2 separate regions of the Homo sapiens genome follow, and region 2 is linked to region 1. The links are contacts of gene promoters, found by promoter capture Hi-C in human tissues and cell types (Jung and others, 2019). All regions are on one chromosome and are shown on one strand. Each heading gives the region's core, a stretch centred on a gene start or on the middle of the fragment in contact. The rest is flanking DNA. Distances are from core to core; before and after follow the strand shown.

Region 1 (3,757 bases), core at 944-3,443:
TCACAATCATAAATAATTATTAAAATAAGTCACTAATATGGTTTGACTGTCCCCACCCAAATCTCCTCTCATCTTGAATTATAATCCCCATAATCCCCATGTGTCCAGGGAGGGACCCAGTGGCAGGTGATTGGATCATGGTGTGGATTCCTCCATGCTGTTCTCATGATATTGAGTGAGCTCTCATGAGATCTGATAGTTTTATAAGTGTCTAGTATTTCCCCTGCTTGCACTTCTCTCTCCTGCCACTAAGTGAGAAGATCCAAGCTTGCTTCCCCTTAGCCTTTCACCATGATTCTAAGTTTCTTGAGGCATCCCAGTCATGTAGAACTGAGTCTATTAAACTTCTTTTCTTTATAAATTACCCAGTCTCAGGTATTTCTTTACAGCAGTGTGAGAATGGACTAATGTAGCCACTATGAACTTAAATACACATTTGTCTTCCCTCTGAAGCTGCAATAGTAACAAATATACCTTTAAACAACTCTTTCAGTTCCACAATTAATTCATCTTACCTTACCCATGAAAACAGCTTTCCAGGAAGTACTCTAGTGTCTACAGTTTATTAAGCTAGTCCCTTGATCCTTGGTTCTCAAAGTAAACCATGAGTTTTTTGAGCTCAACACTGAAATCTTTACACCTACTACTGTCTTGGTTCATCTTAAGATCTTAATATAATTAGATTTTTAAAATAAATATATTTACAAATGAGAATTAAAACATTTTCAGAATTTATTGACATAGAGATATGTGCTCTCCCTTAATTTGGCCCCTATTTTCTTTGATGGAGAGATGCAGTTTAATAAAATATAGATTAAAACTTAGATGTTCACTTTCAACAAGATTTCAGTTTTTGAAAGAAATAATTGTCAACCTGTTATTGAAGGAATGTATAAACATTAGAAATCTCAAGTTTTAGGCTTCTGTTTCTGGAGTAGAGCCACTATATTACTCAACTGTGAAGGAATCCTTCTTACATGAAAAACAAAATTTAATTTCTAAATGAGGAAACTGAGGAACTCAAAGAGAAACAAATTCCTCAATCCTGCATTGATAATTTTTCTAGAAATATGTGTAAATACTAAATTTATGTGTCTGCCTTCATGAAGATGTTTCTTGAGGTATCTATTGACTTTTTTTAAAGATGAAAAAATGTATAGCAAAATGATATGTGATAGTTTAAAGAAATCATTAGTGCTTTACAATGAAGGTTTATGACTCTCTGGGTGTCCTGTAGTAGTGATGGCCCCAGGGTTCTAACTGATTCTATAAGGTCAACATTCTATAATATTTTTGAGACTGATAGATCATCTTACATTTGCAATTCATAATTTCCCTTAAAAACACTATCTTCTGACATTATATTTATATAAGCTCACCTTCAAAGGCACAGAAAAGTTAGAACTTAATAAGCACCAGTTAGACACATGACTTACCTAGAACTTCACTATAAAACTGGTCCCACTTCTTCAGATCATAAATTTGAAACCAAAAGTCAAAATAAAGCATATGTATCATATTTTTTATCCTCTCCATGAAAATCATTTGATCACTTAATTCTGACATAACAACAGGTACATAGGAAGGAGGGAACAGAAATCCTCCACCATTCTTCTCAAATGTGTAGCCAACAGAGAATCGAAGACTGTACAGAAAGGGTATGTTAAATAGTTCAGCCAGTAGCTCACCACAGGGATTAAGGGCATCTGCCAGAATGACATCAAACTTTGACTCTTGTAGTTTCATCATAAGTTTCTTATTCAAAACTGCATCTTTACAGAGCTTGTTACTGTAGTCATAATATTCCCAACACAATTCTTGTAATTGTGAAAAATATGACCAAAATGTATTTTTTGAAACACCATATATCCATCTATCGAGAATTTTCAGAAGAGAATCTTCCAAATAATTTTTAGTTAAAGATGTAGGATAAACTTCTAATTTAATAGCAGATGATTTACTGGCATTGACAAGAGTAGAAGCCGAAGATGTCAACACAGTCACCTCATGACCCCTCTGAACAAGCTCTTCCAGGATTGTCTTCATATTTATCCAATGGCTGTATTCTGTGGGCCACACTAGCACCTTTCCACAGCTTCCAGAGCTAAAGTAACAACTGAGCTGTATCAGCAGAAAGACTGACGTCCATTTCAGAGACATCCTGGTCTTATGCAATGCTTCTTTTCCAGTTGTTGTTTCTTTCTGTCATTTCTCATACTTATATCTGAGGAAAAATCAATCAAGTTAAAATATAACTGCTAAAATTTGAAGTAAATACATAATACTAACAGTCTGAATAGGTGCATGCCAAGGAGACCAACAAAAGATTGATGACCTCATATTTATTTTAGTGTGTTTGGTGTTCTTTTATGTTTACAATTACTCTAGTCAAGCAATAATTTTTATGACCTAGAATATGTAAGTAACCTGTCTTATGTAATTATTTTATAATACTGTTAAGAACAGTGGCAAGTGAGAGGCTCCTGCCTGTTCGGTGCCCTTGACATAGAGAGAAGAAGTAATTATACAACTCAAACGGCATTTTTTAATATCGTGGTGCAAGTAATGTCTTCTAAAACTTTGTTGACACATAATTCATATACCATATGACTCACCAATTAGTGTGTACAGTTCAATGTTTCCTAGTATATTCACAGAATTTTACATCCACTACAATAATCAGTATTATCTCCAAAAGATTCTATACAATAGCCTCTAACCCCCCACTCTGAAATTTTGCATCCATCCTACCCTAGGCAACCACTAATCTAATTTCTATCTCTATAGATTAGCATTTTCTGGACCCTTTAAAAAATAAATGAGGGTTTTCCAGTGATCATGGCAGATGGGATGCAGGACTAGATTGCAGCTCCAGACAGAGCAGCATGCAGAGGCTTGCATTGTGAATTTTAGCTGCAGATCAACTGCAAGAACAGACCAGCAATTCTGAGAGGATCCACACACCCTCTGCAGGAAGAGTACTGCTCCTGCAGGACCTGGGAGACATCCCAAACACTGTGAGTGCCCCAACAATGGAAGTGGGAAAGGGTGATCCCCCTCTCCAGAATACACATCCCCACTGGAGAAGCTGAAGTTCTGTTTGCAGGAGAAGTTCCTGACTTTATGTGAAGCTGAGTCAAATTAGAGAACCAAGCCAAGCAAAATACAGGGGTAGAGGAAGTAGCAGAAAGGCACTGGGAGCTCTCTGGATACCCAAGCGGCTCATTCCTGCCTGGCATCACAGGGATCTATCAGGAGGGTGGCCAGTGATGCAGGGGGTTCAAAGATTCTCCTCAGGACCTGAAGGCTTGAAGGGATGAGTAACTCCTCCCTTCTCAGGCCCAGCCCCAAGATGCAAGACCACTTGCATCAGCAGCGTGTGTCAGCAAGATAGCAGAAGCAGGAAGAGAGCCGGCCAGAAGACACTTACCCTGGCTGGAAGAGATGTACCCCTGAAGATCAAGAAATAGGCCATCCAGGTACTACATAGCAGTCACAACAGACTGGGACACTTACTGTTTACAGAGGACTACAAAACCCCTGTCCCATCCTCACTTGGGGCTGATGCCATTTTAGGCCTCAGCCCACCTGCAACCAGGCGTTCATTAAAACAGCATGTTGCTCCACACCGCCTCCTGTTGTCTGTTGGCGCGCTGTTGGGGTTCAAACTGATTCAAGAACCTTACATCTGGTGCCAAATCCTAGGAGGGGCTCAGGTCTGTGTCGCTTGTGGACCTATCCCTCCACCCCAGAGAGC
Region 2 (3,757 bases), core at 328-2,827, 300 kb after region 1:
GAATTTTTGATAACCTTATAGCATTCTCTTTATAATTGGAAAGCAAGAGCACATATGGAAAACAGAGTTTTGTTTTGTTTTCATTAAAAAGAAGTAGGTAAACCGTAGCATATGTTATACAAGCCAAAAGCTTGTTGAATAAAAGAATTATTTTTGTTGTGATATGAACTTCATTGGTTGCATAGCATTGAACAGATACGGTGGGGAAATTGAAAAAGACACATATTCTTAGCAGAATGGGGTAAAATGAAGACGTAGAAAAATACTTAGTAAGCTGGTTGTTAATTTAAATCTACTGTTTCCAAGAAGGAGGATTGACACTCTATGAACTATCATTTCCAGGACTATTGCAATACTAAGATGATTATACCTGATGATATAATCATTGCAATACTAAGATAATGGCAATACTAAGATGATAATACCTGAGATTGAGAGGGAAGATCTTTTAAATAGTCTTCCAGTATGGCCCTAACATTTTCTAGTATGATATATAACATAATCAATGGTAGATAAGCCTTTTAAAGCAGTAATACTTACAAAAGATTATTGATACCTGTTCTCAAAGACCTAAGCAAATCTGTACCTGTAATTGTATTCATGTTCAGCTGCACAGCTGCTCCTTTGGCTTTCATGTGAGAGGTGTTGTCAAGATGATCACCAAACATAGGAAACTCCCACCATAGGGACTCCATGGTAAATAGCTTCATAGACCCCATTTATATCACCATGAGTGATAAAAGCTTTGGTTTGTGCATGACCTAGTTGGGAAACTGAATAAGAAGTATGGTTTTTATTATCACAATTCTTAAAAGAATTTCAGAGACATGTAGGGAAAAAATCTTTGAAATAACTCACTGAAGAGGGCAGAATTTTCTACAAAAGTGAACAAAAAGGGCATCATTGCAAAAGAAATTTGCTTTCTTAAGGAAAAGAGGCATTAATTTATTTCTGCATTGCTTGAAACTTACTTTAAAAATAAAAGTAAGAATCAAAAAATATAATGACCAACAATTACTCAATTATATATACTTTAAAATTAAAGGTAAAATAACAAACTATAAATTTTAAATTTTTGTTAAATTTATTAGGTGTTAAACAGTTATTCAATTTTTCCCTTATGAAATTCCTCATTTTTACTACGTCATAATCTTATCATGAAGATCGCTCTGGCATATCCAAACGTAGAGCTGAGTATTGGTTCCCAGTGTAGCTGGTTTCTTTCCTTTGAATCTCTATAAAACCTGAGGAAGTAAATGTATGCATTTCACAAGTTAAACCACAAGATAATAGCATTTTGAGTTTTCAGATCATTATAATTCATACAATCCACTTTATTTCAGATGATATTTGAGACAGGAGCATATAAGGGTCCTATGTAATCACTGAAAAAAATAGTAAGACTGTTGACAGTCACCTCTTAAAAGGGTAGGTACCATTAAACTCTTGGGGATACCATTTATTATTTTGTTTCCTGCAAACTCAAATCATCTAGGAGTGAGATTATAAAAATAACAAAAAAATAAAGCAGTGTTGGCTAATTTGTCAGCATATGGAAGTTCAATTTCTTACGGACACACAACTTCTGTGTAAATGTAAATCACTTGGCCATTCTAGCTCTATTATCAAATTTATAGTTTCCCAGAGACAAACATTGCTTTGGTTTTTGTCTGGTTTTGGGTAGTTGGTTGTCTTTTCTCTTCATGCCTCCTTCTCTCCTTTATTTCATTTATCTTTAATTAAAAAACAAAGAGAGAGGAGTTACCTATATTTCATTGTTGAAGGTTAAATTTTGTTTGTATTTGTATCTTAGTTCCATACTTTTTTCTTTCTAGAAACGTATATGAAAATCTCACACTTGAAAACAAAGGATTACATAGATACTCTGAACTCCCAAAACGAGAATCTCATGACTAAAACCAATTTCACATTCCTATTTACCATACTTGCTTTTATTGAGTGTTTTGAAATTTAACTAAACATAAAATTAAAAAAAAAACCTCTAGGCTGGTGTATAAATAGCACTAACTAAAGAGAGGAAAACTAGAATTACAGTAATAACAAAACTAATTGAATATCATAAAGAATTACATGCAGGTTGCTAGACTATAATATTAAAACCATAATTGCCTTTTAACTATAGAAAACTCTAGTTCATTAGAAAGACTACATAAATTTAAGCTTCTACTTTTATGTTCAAATACGTGGAATAGAGTTCCTATATAATCAAATATGTTGAGAATACTATTGAGCATGATTCTTCTCTTATATAATTCCCCAATTTTTATATTCCTTTGAGCTAGTATATTTAAAAAGTTTCCTTTGGAGTCATCAGAATATGTCTCAAGATTTCAAATCCTGCAATGTGGAATAGGGACTTAATGCACTATTTTTATTTTATTATTAACAAATGACAAGCAAGAGATGTGTTACTAAAGCAATAGAAAAGATCACTAGGCAAATAATCAGTTGTGTCCACATACACAACCATAATGTTTTCCAAATTGTTACGTAAATCTAACGCCTGTTACGCAAATTGAAAAATGAGATTCAAGTTCCAAATGGAAAGCCATACTTTCTCTATTGTGTGAATAGCTTCTTATAAGGATTGGAGGTTCTACTGACTTTTTGTGGAATCTGAGCCAGGGCGGAAGTGATAAGATAAACCTTTTCTTCTGTAAGGTTTTTCACAACTGACTCCAGAGAAAACACAACAACACCATCCTTATCAGAGCGCTGGAAAAATTCTTCTATTTCCTACAGAAAAAAAAATTTTCTTCATTATAAAGATGCAATGCCAAATAGAATAATACAGTTTATGCATACTTCTAAAATAAAATTTTGAAGTTGACATATATATAGTTGTATTGTCCCTGTATTCTGAGATGCATTTTAGCATAGAAATGAGAAAGTTTGTGTTAGAAACATATGTCTTCAGTACATAATAATTATTTACTAGAAAAAGCACACAACCACATAGTTATACAGAACATTTAAGTGAGAAATGTCCATCTTGTTTAATATTTGGTAGACATCAAATTCTAAAAACATAATGGTTAGTAAACTCATAAAACTATTTCAACAATATCAAGTGTCAATTTGTTGGCATTTTGTGATGTCAACAAAATAATAAAATTTTAAAAATCCAACATCAATTCCCCAACAAAAGTACAACTAGTAGCTATCCAAATACACAAATGCCACTCTGAATTCACCAGATCTCAATAGAGAAGGAGAAAACCCCAAGACTTACGGACATGACAAACTTATGATTGGTAAGATGAATAATTTTTGGGGGCTATACCAACCCCTTCCACACACAAAAATGACACCACTGTGAGATAACTTCTTTTTACCTGCAGTTATTGAAATGGGAGGAGGGAATTTCAAGTGGACATATAATTTCTTCATGGGTCTGTAAATTTGGAGGGAAAGCCCACATTTGTCCCACCCCACAAGAGGTATTGAGAGTGTTCACAGGGCTGAACCACCTGGGGTAAATTTGAGACCAAAAGTAAGAGTAGTAATCACAGTGATTGGCCCACAGATCTTGGCGTCTGCTTTGTGTACCTAGCTACAGGGATGCCACACTGAGGAGTCTGACCAGAACCATAGCACTGCAGGAGGCAAGATCTAAGAGAAGGTCTGAATCTTTGACAAGATTTTTTACAATTCCCAGGGAGTCATGTGGATGGAGATTTTCCATGACTGGGAAACAAGTATAAGGTTTGAAATTAAGTTCCAATGATTGTTTAAA

What was found. The method cuts DNA at HindIII sites, captures the fragments that hold promoters and counts their contacts. A contact is called where the count stands out against the background at its distance.
Region 2: a contact is called between a fragment that was not itself captured here and the fragment with the promoter of UGT2B15 in region 1, in 2 of the 25 tissues and cell types used here (H1 embryonic stem cells and dorsolateral prefrontal cortex).

What each region holds. Positions count from the first base shown.
Region 1 is chr4:68,668,459-68,672,215 of GRCh38, forward strand. It overlaps UGT2B15 (UDP glucuronosyltransferase family 2 member B15), which reads right to left and starts at 2,194. Exons shown (of 6, transcript NM_001076.4): 1 at 1,437-2,194. The coding sequence starts at 2,160. The HindIII fragment of the contact is 11,998 bases long and covers 1-3,757 here.
Region 2 is chr4:68,973,237-68,976,993 of GRCh38, forward strand. It overlaps the pseudogene LOC100289568. Among named protein-coding and RNA genes, the nearest start is that of UGT2A3, 23 kb to the left of the region's middle. The HindIII fragment of the contact is 3,307 bases long and covers 1-3,231 here.